Linked DNA regions of Homo sapiens: regions 2, 3 and 4 are each linked to region 1. Evidence: promoter capture Hi-C in 16 types of primary human blood cells and fetal thymus (Javierre and others, 2016). All regions are on one chromosome and are shown on one strand. Each heading gives the region's core, a stretch centred on a gene start or on the middle of the fragment in contact. The rest is flanking DNA. Distances are from core to core; before and after follow the strand shown. Region 1 holds the start of ADAM7 (ADAM metallopeptidase domain 7). Region 2 overlaps LOC107986930 (a long non-coding RNA gene). Region 3 holds the start of NKX2-6 (NK2 homeobox 6). Region 4 overlaps LOC107986930 (a long non-coding RNA gene).

Evidence for each region. The method cuts DNA at HindIII sites, captures the fragments that hold promoters and counts their contacts. A CHiCAGO score of 5 or more calls a contact.
Region 2: a fragment that was not itself captured here is called in contact with the fragment with the promoter of ADAM7 in region 1 in 1 of 17 cell types (total B cells); the score reaches 5.7 in total B cells.
Region 3: the fragment with the promoter of NKX2-6 here is called in contact with the fragment with the promoter of ADAM7 in region 1 in 5 of 17 cell types (M0 macrophages, total B cells, naive B cells and 2 more); the score reaches 11.0 in M0 macrophages.
Region 4: a fragment that was not itself captured here is called in contact with the fragment with the promoter of ADAM7 in region 1 in 1 of 17 cell types (naive B cells); the score reaches 5.8 in naive B cells.

What each region holds. Positions count from the first base shown.
Region 1 is chr8:24,439,273-24,442,476 of GRCh38, forward strand. ADAM7 (ADAM metallopeptidase domain 7) reads left to right here and starts at 1,754. Exons shown (of 22, transcript NM_003817.4): 1 at 1,754-1,888; 2 at 3,201-3,204. The coding sequence starts at 1,837. All of the region lies in intron 1 of ADAM7-AS1 (ADAM7, ADAMDEC1 and ADAM28 antisense RNA 1), which reads right to left. The HindIII fragment of the contact is 2,181 bases long and covers 1,068-3,204 here.
Region 2 is chr8:23,783,045-23,786,233 of GRCh38, forward strand. The region is part of intron 3 of LOC107986930 (a long non-coding RNA gene); the gene reads left to right. Among named protein-coding and RNA genes, the nearest start is that of STC1, 70 kb to the right of the region's middle. RefSeq lists an enhancer at 1,038-1,621. The HindIII fragment of the contact is 2,184 bases long and covers 616-2,799 here.
Region 3 is chr8:23,705,186-23,708,635 of GRCh38, forward strand. NKX2-6 (NK2 homeobox 6) reads right to left here and starts at 1,571. Exons shown (of 2, transcript NM_001136271.3): 1 at 1,140-1,571. The coding sequence starts at 1,413. The region is part of intron 3 of LOC107986930 (a long non-coding RNA gene); the gene reads left to right. RefSeq lists an enhancer at 1-190. The HindIII fragment of the contact is 21,372 bases long and covers 1-3,450 here.
Region 4 is chr8:23,751,830-23,755,492 of GRCh38, forward strand. All of the region lies in intron 3 of LOC107986930 (a long non-coding RNA gene), which reads left to right. Among named protein-coding and RNA genes, the nearest start is that of NKX2-6, 47 kb to the left of the region's middle. The HindIII fragment of the contact is 7,978 bases long and covers 1-3,663 here.

The sequences.
Region 1 (3,204 bases), core at 504-3,003:
TAATGGAGGCAAAAAAAAAAAACTTAGTGGTGGACTGATTATAAGGGATGTCATTGATGATACTGACTTTCAGAATTGCAATGCTAAAGGGATGAGGCACTGCTGGCCAAGACAGAGGACAAACTGGGGGGAAATGTATTTTAAGTCTTGTACATATTGATTTTACAAGGACTTTGATCCTTCCCAATGAAGACATTAAGTAGAAACTTTGCTGTAAAGATCTGTTGCCCAAATGGCTAGAAATATAAAATGTGAGGCATAGCATAGCAATAATTAAACCATAACTGAAGATGAGATGGCTTTGGAACAAGCATAATCGGAGGAAAAGAGGGTGTTTAATAAATACCTCAAGGAACTCAAAAATTTAAATGCTACATAGAAAAGGATATACCTACAAGTTGCCACTGAACCAGGAAGAAGTTAAGAAGGCTATTGTGGCAAGGGAGCTAAATAGTATATTTCAAGGGGAAGGATGTGGTCAACAGTGCTAAAAATTGTTAAAAGGGCAAATGAGATGAGGAAACAAAATATCTCTTGGATATAGAAATGGTAAAATCACTGGAGATATTGGCCATTTCAGTAGAATAATAAAGGCAGATGCTAGAACTGGGATGTGGTAGGATAAGTTTGAGGTAAGAAAATTGCAAGAAGTCCAGGTAATACTGTGTTAGAAATTTAGCTGTAAAGGAAATGGGAGAAAAAGTGATAGTAAGAGTATATGAGATATAGAATAGAGAGAATTTTTCAAAAAGGAGAGACTTTTGACTTGACTTAAAATGGTACCCCCGTTTTAAGCCAAGGGACTCCGATTTCTCTGCCTCCTTTCCAAGTTTGCTTATGTTTTCCCAATTTGTAAATATCAGTGTCAATTTCCCCACCTGCAAAGTGGGGATTATATTTTATAATGCTGCTATACATGGCTGCTAACTGGGAGCAAGTGAACTGTATGAGGACAATTCTGTTTTTCAACCACAATGGATGAATATTAATGTCAGATGGATTTTTCCTCTTATGTTTCCTTGTAGAAAAAGTCGTCCTTGGAGCAGAGGGTCTAAATATCAAAAGGAAGCTTCCAATTGACATAGATTCGTTCAGTTTGTGGAAATATTAGAGACATATAGATGCGGGTGAGAAATAGAATCCCAAATGAAGATAAAAGGATTCTATTGGCCATGGGATAACTCTACTAACATAACAAGAGAACACAGACATACAGATGGAATTGTCGAGGCCCTTTGCACATCTGTCCATTGGTATTCTTTTTTGTATTGCTTTGAAAGGGCTCTATATTATATGGACACTTACTCCCACCTTTTATTTATTTATTACATACATTTCTGTAGTTTGGATATTTTAATTTTAATATGTGATTTATGCCATATAAATTTTCAATATTTCTCATTTAACAAATGTTCCTTTTAGTTTTTATATGGCATACTCTGCATAGAAAGAATTTAACCATCTTCAACCAAAGCATATATAAATATTTTTCAACATTTTTTTCCTAAGACATTCTTGATTTTTTTCCACTTTTGAAGTTTTCAGATATCTGGAATCAAATTTATATTAGACATGACGTAGGAATCTATGTCCAGCCAACCTTCACCACCACCACCTCGGTAGTTGTCTTTAATTAGAACATGATGTTCAACCTCCAGGTTTTAGCCTCAAGCACCTAGCAAGTTGTGTAACTCCCTCAAGGAACACTTCCTTGTTGTGGATCAAAACTGCCCACCTATCTGTGAGGTGCTTCATCCCTGCAGTGGAAGTGAGGAGGAAGAAAGGTGAACTCCTTTTCTCAAGCACTTCTGCTCTCCTCTACCAGAATCACTCAGAATGCTTCCCGGGTGTATATTCTTGATGATTTTACTCATTCCTCAGGTTAAAGGTATGTCTTGCTCTTTTTATCAGGACTTTCTTATTATGCTGTGAGGTTGTGTCTCTTTAGTCACAAACTTTAAACTGTAAGTGATAAAAACATTAAACGTTGATGATTTTTCTGAGAGCTTCGACTAGATTACAGCTAATCATGAGACTCCATGCATCTGTGTAATGCCATATCACTCTTGAACATTCTGACCCACAGTGAGGAGGAGAAAGGAGTGGACAAGTACTGCATATCTGCAGCATGGCAGGCACTGTGCTGGCCATTAGCTGCTTTGTATGTTAAAGTGTTTAAAATTTGAAATTAATATCTCCACTTTACAGATAAGGAAAATGAGACTATTTACAGATCAGAGAAATTAAATATGCTACTGCTGGCCACACAATAAATTGGTAAAGGCTTGATTCAAATCAGAGCATATTCCAGAAACCCCATGCCCTCTCCTTTTTATTGCTCTTTAAGTATCACACCTTAATTAAGCAGGGCTCATCTCACAGATGACTATCAAGGTGATAGGACATGAATAGAAGATTATGGTTGGCACTGATGCAGGGCTACCCAAAATTCTTTAACAGGTAAAGGTCTTATACTTAACTACGAAAGGTAAGACTTTAAATGCAAACATCCCTGGAAGACCAAATTCAGTAATTTACATTCAAACAGGACAACAGTGCAGGCTTTGACAGGAGACAAAATCCAGAGGTTGGCATGAGGATAACAAAACGACAACTGCAGGCCAGACATGGTGGCTCATGCCTGTAATCCCAGCACTTTGGGAGGCTGAGGCAGGTGGATCACCTGAGGTCAGGAGTTTGAGACTAGCCTGGCCAACATGGTGAAACCCCGTCTCTACTAAAAATACAAAAATTAGCCAGGCATGGTGGTGTGCACTTGTAATCCCAGCTACTTGGGAGGCTGAGGTGGAAGAATCGCTTGAACCGGGGAGGCGGAGGTTGCAGTGAGCCGAGATCACGCCACTACACTCCAGCCTGGCTGACAGAGCGAGACTCTGTCTCAAAAAAATAAATAAATGAAACAAAAAATAAAATTACAGCTGCAGAACATGGCGAAAATATGGAGGAAATGGAGGGACACTGATTTCTTTGGCTCCTTTCCAAGTTTCCTTATATTCTCCTGATTTGTAAATATCAGTGTCAATTTCCTTGCCAGTAAAGTGGGAATAACATTTCATAGTGTTGCTGTCCATGGCTGCTAACTGGGGGCAAATGAACTGTATTAGAACAATTCTGTTTTTCAGCCGCTGTAGACGAATGTTAATGTCAGACGGATTTTTTCCTCTTATGTTTCCTCGTAGAAAA
Region 2 (3,189 bases), core at 458-2,957, 660 kb before region 1:
ATTCCTCTTTATATTTTCAAAGCAGGTCGTCTAAAGTATCTGTTTTTGTTTATTTATTTATTTTTTTTAGTGGGGACATTTAAAACAATCTCAATAAAACAAACCTAGGAGGACAAAAAAGTATCAAGGAGCAGAAATTAAAGACCTTAAAATCCTATCTCAGAGAGGCAATTACTGTTAATATTTCCTTTCAATCTTTTTTCTATTCATGTTTTAGGTAGTTGCTATGACCCATGGTATCAGTCATGATAGACTTGGTTGTTATGTGGTAATACTCATCTCCAAGTTTTGATTGTGCAGGAGTACAGTTGCTTATTTCTCACTTGTGTTACATGTCCTTTGCAGATTGATTGGAGACCCTGTAGCCATGTCATTATCACCTTTACTCAGAGTAATCACGATCTGGAACTTTTCTGGTTACCACAGTAGGGTGAAAAGAGTGCACTGAATGGCCACACACTGGAAATTAAACATTTGCACAGGAAATGACACATAATGCTTATGCTCGCAAATCAATGGCAAGAATTGATCACTTGGCCTAATCCAACCACAAACCCCCATTATACCATGCATACTTTATTAAACAATGAAACTATTACTAAATAATACTTATAAAGCTTAGTTTGAGTTATTATATGAAACCCATAAAATTATATATCTTTTCTTTTCTTTTTTTTTTTGAAACAGGGTCTCACTCTGTAGCCCAGGCTGGAATGCAGTGGTGAGATCTTGGCTCACTTCAACCTCTGCCACCCGTGTTGAAATGATTCTCCCACTTCAGCTTCCTAGGTAGCTGGGATTACAGGTGCGCGCCACCATGCCTGGCTAATTTTTGTATTTTTAGTAGGGACAGGGTTTCACTATGTTGGCCTGGTGGGTTAAAATTATCTATCTTTTCAAATTAGTCTATAGTCACACTTTCAATGAATTCCTATTGGATTGTCAAGGGTTTATTTGTATTGGTTACATTGATCGAATTTGGTGATGAAAAGGAATGTTTCCCCCAACTTTAAATGTTTCCTTTCATGAGGTGGGGATCCACCAGCTTGATGCTCTTGTCCTTATTTGATTGGTGAGCTTGGAAGGAGAAATTGGGCTCCATAGCCGAGGCCTTTCTGGTTCCTTTCTCTTGAGAGGGAGCTGCCTGTAGGAAGTGTTATCTGTTCTTCTCCCCATGGTGTTGGAGGCGGTCTACGCTGGTCTAGCTGGGGTGACCCATCATCCAGGTTTGCTCAGGACTTAGGGGTTTCTTGGGATGTGGGGCTTTCAGTGCTAAAACAAGGATAGCATCTTCTTGTGATTGCCTGGTAAAATATGGAAAATTTTGGGATCCAAGACGAGGAAGCCTATTTGTTCCATCATCTTAGCCGCCACATTCTCTACTATAATATTTATCAGTAATAAAGATGATAATTTAGCCTCTCATTAAAGAGAGGTTTTACTTTCATTTCTCAATTGTCTCAGAACCCAGGCCAGTAAGAGAGATGCTCTTTAGGGAGCCTCTTAAACCTGAATGCTGGGATTAGCACAGTCCTCATTTGCCCTTTTCCCACATAGATCGTACCATGGATGGATCTGGCAGCCTCCACAAATAATGAATCCAGATCTGAAGTTGCACTTCTCCAAGATAAACATCCTATGGGACTAATAAACTTGATCTAGTTGAGGTCTAAGATCAGAGTTTATTTATCTATTTGGCTTCTGTAGTGTAATTTCTCCAAAGCTCAATAATGTTTAGATAAACAGATGCGTTGTGACTAAGCGGGAGGGGGTCAGATCAAAGTAGAAGCAGAAGGGCAGGGTGAGAGGAAATCAGTCAAGAGGATGAGAAGGAGGACAGTCACTAGGACAGCCACTTCACTTTGATGAGGGTCCAGGTGGTGGGCAAATCACAGGGCAATTTCTGATTCTTGAGTGCATGAGGCACCCTTGACACTATAGCTGAATTCACTTCAAACATGGAGAACTGAGGGAAGCAGCAATAAGCCAGTGGATTCACTCCTGCTTTTCATTTATTTTTTTTAATTAATTAATTTTTTTTTTTGAGACAGAGTCTTGCTCTGTCACCCAGGCCAGAGTGCAGTGGTGCAATCTTGGCTCACTGCAACCTCCATCTCCCGGGTTCAGGCAATTCTCATGCCTCAGCCTCTGGAGTAGCTGGGACTACAGGCACCTGCCATCATGCCTGGCTAATTTTTGTATTTTTAGTAGAGATGGGGTTTGGCCATGTTGGCCAGGCTGGTCTCGAACTCCTGACCTCAGGTGATCCGCCCATCTTGGCTTCCCAAAGTGCTGTGATTACAGGATGAGCTACCACGCCCGGCCATACTCCTGCTTTTTAGGCAGAAACATTGTCTGTCACATATGCAGATTTGTTTTACTTCCATAAATCACCAAATATTTCAGTTCAAGCAAGAATAACAAGAAACAAAACCTCCTTTGAACATTTAAATGTTCATCTGCTCTGCATATTTGTGTACTTGTCAGTTTTACAAATAAGGTCCCTTAAATATTTTTAAGAATTACCATGGTTGGTGTTCAGCTGCTTTTACCATGTCCTTGCAATGGTGACATGCATAAAGTTTGGCAACTGGGATAGCACAGGCCCAGGCCAATCAGCACAGATACTAGGTACAGATCACTGGTATGGCCCTGCAGGTGCATGCAAGCTGCAAACCAGCCCTATACATATGGGAATATGTGAATTGTCTTGTTAATACCTCTCTGCGGGTAACTTGGATTCCTAAATTTTCTGGCTAATTCAGAGTCTCCTAATCTAACCTACTCTCTGGAACACTAAGCTTCCTATCTTTTTATTTTTCCTTCTTCTAGCAAGGGATTTCTCAAAGAGTGATGCTCTAGACACTTTGTTACTCGGACCTGTTGAGTTGGAATTCCTGGGGTGGGGGCTAGATGTCTGTCTGTTCACAGCCTCCTCAGATGACTCTGATGTAGCTCACCAAAGTGGGAGGACCCCTCTCCATGTGACTTTCTCCATTTATAAAGGGACACTTGGAATGTGACTGCATATACCTCCAGCTGTCCTGCTCTCCCCTGCCTTTCATTTTATAATTTTCTCTCCTAAAGGTTGACCCTTATTATTGTTTGACATTTTGAGATCATCAAACATAATCTAAGCAATCATTCTTTTCATTGTCTCAGAAGCAGTCAAGTTTATTGAGAGTAAAC
Region 3 (3,450 bases), core at 321-2,820, 730 kb before region 1:
AGTTGGCTGAGCAGCGCCGAGGGAGTTTAGAATCCGCTGCAGAAAACCTACCAGCTTCTTCGCGGACACAGCAGGTAATGTTCTTAGGCTTCTGGAGTTAGTGAGTAGCCGGCCTGCAGGCCGGTAAATAACTCCGATCTAGCCCCTTGGTTTATTTCTTTCGTTCGCGCCTTGAATGGAGGCGCCATGGCACAGTCTGGCAGAGGAGGCCTGCCCTGGCGGGCGCTACTCAGGGCCCCTGCGTTGAGAATGCCGAGTGAGGTGCTGAGGTTTGGAGAGAAAAAGGTGGCGTTTTCATCCCTTGGAATATCGGGCCTCTCCAGCTGAAGCCTCCGGATCGACACAACACAACTCCCGGATCGACGCAACACAACTCCCCGCCAGCCCCTTCCCTTCCAGCGGGCTGGACACAGGTGCGTGGGCCTCGCAGCCCGGCGCGCACGGTTGCGCCTTTGGATACCTGCGACAGGACTCGGCCAGAACCGTGTCCCAGGGCAGAGAAAACCCTGGCAACCTTTAACGTTCTCCCTGACGCGGAGAATCCTGCGCCAACGGGGCCTTCCACTTCGGGAGACTCAATCGCCACCCGGTCCCCAACTTTCGTCTTCCAGAAGAAAAATCCATGAGGAGGAATGGGGGGGTCCCCCGACCAGACCAGCAAGAAAGGGCCCAGTTAGGAGTGACCTCAGCGCCACGAGGGTTCCACTGCTTTGATGGCCACACGCTTTTGCAAACGGTTTGGGGGTGGAGAGACACCAGGTGATGGTAGGGAAGGGCGGTGGTGACTGGCACGGCTAAGACACTGCGGAGGGTTTCGCTGTGGAGATGAGAAGGTGGAGGTTCTGGGCACTGTGGCTGCGAGTGTGAGCGATGCGTTTGTGGGAATCAGAGGAGCGGATTTGGGAAAAGTGAATCCTTGAGATTCAGGGCCTTACTTTCGTTAGGGGTGTGTGAAGCACACTGGGTGTCAGGAGAGGATGGGAATGGGATTCGAGAGGCCTTTTTTTGGACTCCTCGAGAGAAAATGGAGAGAGTCTCGAACCCAGGAGATAGGAGGCGTATTTTCCCCATGCACCCATGGATCACGCCCCCGCCCCCACATTCCCCCCGTAGGAGGCAAGACCTGAGCGCTTACTCACGTGGCTCCCCCATCCGTTCCGCGTCCATCTCCAAGACTGCCTCACAGGGACCCCCAGGAGGCTCCGAACCATCCAGCTTTCTGTCACCGCCGCCGCCACCAGCGTTGTGAACCTCTGACCCTCGCGGCTCTGCGTCCATTCTCAGGTACTGAAAGTTTTCCGGGCTCTTCCGCACCCGCGGATGTGGCGAAGCCGCGGGGCAGCTCCGCTCGCGCTCCAGTCGCAGGATGTCCTTGACCGAGAAGGGGGTGGAGGTGACGGGGCTCAGCAGCATCCCGAAGGCGGATGGGGCGGGGCCGAGGAGGTCCGGGTGAGGAGCGGCACCCTGAACTTCCCGTCTTGTCGCTGCAGGCCCCGCAGACAGACCCAAGCTCTGGGACAGACGCCCAGCGTCCCAGACAGCGCCTTCCTCTGGGCCATGCTGGTAGGCCCGGGTCCAGGGCCGGGTGACGAGACCGTAGCCCCCCATTGGTTCTCGCAGAAACCACGTGCTAGCTCTGCACCTTCCTCCCCCAGCGCTTTCTTCCCGCGCCCGTCGAATCCTCTCCAGTCCCCAGTCGCCTTCCTGGGAGGTTTGGTTCGTATTGACGGTTCTCAAAGCAAAGAAAACGTGGAGAGACAGTGCTGCGCGCGGCTTGGATCTCCGTCAATACGGTACTAGCGGGAGCTTCCGAGGTCAACCTAGGGTCCACGGGGACCCTCCTAGTGGACATGCGGGGATTGGAGGTGGAGTCCTTGCTGTGCAACCCGATCCGGTCCATCCAGCCTGGTCTTAGCTCAACTCTGCATTCTTATGGCGGAGGAAAGCTAAGATAGAGACAGCTGGGACCCGCGGAATTTGAGGCGCGCGCTGGGATCTTACGTGCGCAGAGGCCGGACCGCAGAGTAGAAGTGAGTCTTGACCCACCAGGGCCTATATTGAGATGGAAACCTCTCTCTTTGAACAGAATCCAGGTCTGCGGAGTCCCGACCCGCCACTTCCTAGGAGCAGCTTCTCAGCCCCAGGACCGAGGAATGGGTGTGGGGGCTACATGTGGGGAGCCCTCGACCTCTTAAAGGGCTCCGCGAATGGTGGGGGAGACTGGAAGGCAATCTCTGCGGCCCGCGCAAAGTGGTCAGAGGCGGGAGTGGGGGTGGGGGGGGGTGGGCTTCCGTCGCCCTTGGCGTCCCCACGTTCTTTTTCTTCCTCTCCTTTATCCTCCTTAAAGCGGATTGCCTGGAGCGTGCCAGCTTGTGTGCGCGTATAAATGCGGCGCCCGCCGAAGGGCTGGGAAGATTTGACTCGCATTAGATCTCCAGAAAAGGCCCTTGGTTACGGCGGGCACCGAGTAAATGGCGCAGTGTGGCACAAAGGTTACCAACACGGAGATAGCGCCAACAGATCCAGCCCCTGCTGTTACTACTCCTGGATCAGGGAAACGTGATTTGGTGTCAGCTGTTCCAGCACTGAATCGAAGAGGGTTTAAAAATTGTGTTTTAATCACAATGGGATCTCATTAGAGTTCTTTTGGGGATTTCAGATCAAATGTTTCTTTTTGTTTTTCTTTCCTTCCTTTCCCTCCCTCCCTCCCTCCTTTTTCTTTCTTTCTTTTCTTTCTTTCTCTTTCTTCCTTTTTTTTTTTTTTTTTGGTTACAGGGTCTCTCTCTGTCTCCCAGGCTGGAATGCAGTGGCCGGATCATGGCTCGCTGCAGCCTCGACCCGGACTCAGTGATCCTCCCACCTCAGCCTCCTGAGTAGCTGGGACCACAGATGCAGCCACTAAGCCTGGCTATTTATTTATTTATTTATTGCTTGTAGAGCCGGGGTTTCGCCATGTTGCTTAGGCTGGTCTTGAACTCCTGGGCTCAAGTAATGTGCCCACCTCGGCCTCCCAAAGTGCTGGGATTACAGGTGTGAGCCACCGCGCAGGCTTCAAATGCTTCTTAAACCTACTTACGTGAATTCAATGTTACAACAGCTGTTTGAATATGATTATCTCCTGAAATTCAGATAAACCCAACTCATCTCCCCAGGCTAATGGGTGCAAAATTGCACACAAATATTTATGCAAAATTTCAGCACATTTGATCATTCAGCTACAAAGTAATGATTTCCTATACATGGTAACATTTAATCTTCACATCAAAGCTATACCCAAATATTTCCAGCTGCTGCTCCTTCTTCTTCTTCCTCCTCCTCTTCTTCTTCTTCTTCTTCTTCTTCTTCTTCTTCTTCTTCTTCTTCTTCTTCTTCTTCTTCTTCTTCTTCTTCCCCTCCTCCTCCTCCTCCTCCTTCTCCTTCTCCTTCTTCTTCTTTTGTTCAGCGAGGAGT
Region 4 (3,663 bases), core at 887-3,386, 690 kb before region 1:
TTACTTCCTGATGCAAAGTCTGACTTATTGCAGTGTCTTTTTGAATGTGTTTTTACATGTCAACTCCACTTTACATGCTTTCGTATGAAGGAATGACTTGTGCCCAGAGCAGATGCATGCAACTGTGTGTACATGTCTGAGTGCAAGTGGATTGATGTGTATCTGTGGGAAGGGGAAGGGTGGCTTACACATTACCCCTTTGATCACATTGCACTAAGCAGTGTTGCACGAATGCAGCATCATGGATACTGTGGGCTTTCAAACTTGTGTTGATTGAGAATCAAATGTTCTTTTCAAACTGAGGATGGTAGCATAGGTTTGAGAATTGAGAAGGAAGGAAGGAAGGGATTTGCCTCTTCTTGGTGCAAGGCATGAAAATAGGAAAAAGGTGGCTTTGGGAGGTCAATGTGCCCCAGAACACTGAAGCCTGAAGATTATTCTAATCTCCTGATGCTGTCAGAAGCATAAACTATTACTTTTTTTTTCTTTCTTTTTTTTTTTTTTTTGCTTACTGCATTAGCTGCCTTCCCTTTTCTAACTATAACCCTAATCCTGTCCTAACCCTAACTCAACCCTGATCCTGCCTGGTTTCCCCTATTACTGTGTTTCTACAGAGCAGGCCACTGATTTACCTCCCCCGCAGCTCAGCTTCCACACCAGTTTCCAGGCCAACTTTGAATCGAGGCAGGAGTAGTCTACACTGGCTCAGCTCTGTAACAGTTCTGCTACTTCCAGACCCAAATCCACACACAGACACACACACAGACACACACACACACACTAAAGTGCGATGTAGTGTTGAGTCACTCTTTTTGCCACTATAGCCACAGACCTCTGCCTTGTTATTTCCCACAGCTCCCCCTGCACTCTTATATTTGATACATGAACTTGGCCTTATAACAAGGTTCTTTTTCCAAGTTCCACAGCTGGAACCTTTGCCATGCACCCAGTATATTTTTGTCATTGGTTCCTTTATTCATTCCATATTCACTGAGTCCCTGCTCAGGCCTGTGCTGGTTGCCAGGGATTTGTACCTGCACAAAGAGCTACGTCCCCTTGGGTTCCTGTTCTGATCACCTGGTGGGGTCCTCCGTGACTGTCTCATTCTTGCCAGTTTCCCCTCCTCAAGTGCTGAGACCAAGTGCCTCACCTCTCTGGGTAGCAGAGTCCTGTGACTCACACCTTTCAGACCATGCCTGCCTATGTGCCTGGACCTCAGAGTCCTTCCTTCCGGGGCCTGGGCTTGCTCTGTGTGGGAAGAAACATCTTGTTACAGATAATGCATCCCTGATGCTAACTCTTCGCTTGAACTGTGATGGGGCAGGCAGGCTGAGCCTCCACAGACAGCCCCTTGTGGCAGCAAGAAACCTTGTCCAGCCCCAGAGAAAACACAGAGCTGACACCTGCCCGTTTCATGCAGTTGGCCTCGTGTGCTAATTAGCTAAGTCCTGGAAAGTGGGTAAAGTCCAGTAACCTACGGTGTGAGTCCCAGTTGGACACGGTGACTTTATGTGCATAATGTGCATAAAAGGATTTTCTGTTGTTAGAAAATAAGTAGCTGTAAGAGGAGAAAATTAAAGGATAAACTAGAGAAAGAAGCCTCTCAGAGTCAAATGAGCAAGTTCCTTAAGAAATAATGTTTTGAGCTTGCAAGATGGTAGAGGATGCAGATGAGGCTGGGCTGGGCTGGAGGGACTGCAGCGAACTTCAGTGAGGAGAGAACTGGGTTGAGAGTCCCAGGTCCTACCTGTCTGTGCCACTAAGCGCACTGTGCGACCATAGCATATTACCCATGTGTTTCTGATGCTTTGACATGTGGGGCCTTGCTGACACTGGAGGGACTATCCCTTCCAAGGCTAGCTAATTTCCAGAGATGGTAAAGAACTTGCTTTTGAGTGTACCTTTTGTATACAGACCAATCCATCTAGAACCCATTCCTTCAACAACCTTCTGTATCTGGCTCTCACACTCTGGACTGCTATTCCCTTGTCTTCATTACCCCAGGGCCAGGTACTAGATGACTAGGGCCAACCCCTAGCCCCAGAGCCCACTGAAATTATTCAAACTGGCTGGCCCTAAGCTGCTTACCCTGCCTTGCCTCTTCTTTCACATGGAAGCCCTCTGCCTCCTGACCCAACCCTGATGGCCTCCCACTCCCATGGCCTGGCATGCCCTCCTTCTCTTGGGAATTTTGAGTAAAATCTTTTTTTTTTTTTTTGAGGCAGGGTCTTGTTCTGTCACCCAGGCTGGAGTGCAGTAGTGCAATAAAGGCTCACTGCAGACTTGACCTCTTGGGCTCAAGTGATCCTTCCATCTCAGCCTCCTGAGTAGCTGGGACCACAGTATGCACTACCACACCTGGCTAATTTTTGCATTTTTAGTGGAGAAGGGTTTTTGCCATGTTGCCCAGGCTGGTCTCAAACTCCTGAGTTCAAGCAATCTGCCTGCCTTGGCCTCCCAAAGTGCTAGAATTACAGGCATGCATCACTGTGCCTGGCCGAGTAGACGTTTTAATAGACGAATTTTTAATAGACAAATAGGCTTTTTAGAGTATTTAGATTGACAGCAAAATTGAACAAAAGGCACAGAGGTTTCCCATATCCTGCTGCCCTGACACATGTACAGCCTCCCCCACTGTGGACATCCCCCACTAGAGTGGAGCATTTGTTACAATTGATCAAACTACATCAACATGTCACAATCACCAAAAGCTCATAGTTTAAGTTAGAGTTTACTCTTGCTATTGGACATTCTGGGGATTTGGACAAAGGATGCATAGCTACCATTATAGTATCCGTCTGAGTCTCAATTTTCCTTGTCACTAAAATGAGGGGTTGGATTAAATGGACTTTTCTGAAGTCTCCTTTTTAAGGACCCAGATAGGCTTGAGAGGTAGCGAGTGAGTCCCTCACTACTCCCCTAACTCCCTCAGGACCCCTAACCCTGTGGACCCTGCTGCTGAGAGTGGCTGAGGAGTGGGGGTCTCACTGTGCAAGGCGTCTTCCTGCTCACTGCCGGCAGGCATAATTCCCGCAGTCCCAATGAAGGAACCCTGCCTCGTACAGGTGGGGATTAGAATCTCAAAATAAAGTCAGATAATGCCAACAGTGGCATCCTTTTAAAACTGAAAGGTTAGAATTCAAGAGAAAACACTAAATTCAATTGCTTGAATGTGGAACTCTTAATCACCCTAATTAAATATCTTCATTTAGGGAGACTTGGAAACATGGATCTTGACGTTTTTGCTTTGCCAGAATCACAGAAGTACGCTTAGAGACATTTTCCTTTCTCCCCAACTCTCTAAACAGGAATCCCTTCTCCAGTGCCAGAAAGGCAGTTTTCTGCACTCAGCAGCGCTCCAAATTGTCAGATGGATGCCCAGAGCTGGGCTTGGGGGTCAGATGTGGCTAAATGTCTCCGATCTAGGTTCCTGCCATCCTGGCCCAAGGCAGAGGTAGCATGTAGTCCTCACTATTGAACGCTCCCAGCTCTAGGATTTGCTTGAAGAAAAATTTTGCCTTATAAATCCCCTAGATGGTGCTCCTTGTCAAGTGTGAGTGTTTCTTTCTTTTTACCCCTTTCTTTTGAAGCTGCTGGCATCTCAGCAGCTTCAAAAGGCCCAAGTTAGCTGCTGTTGTCTCACTGGAAAGTTTCAGTTGTCAG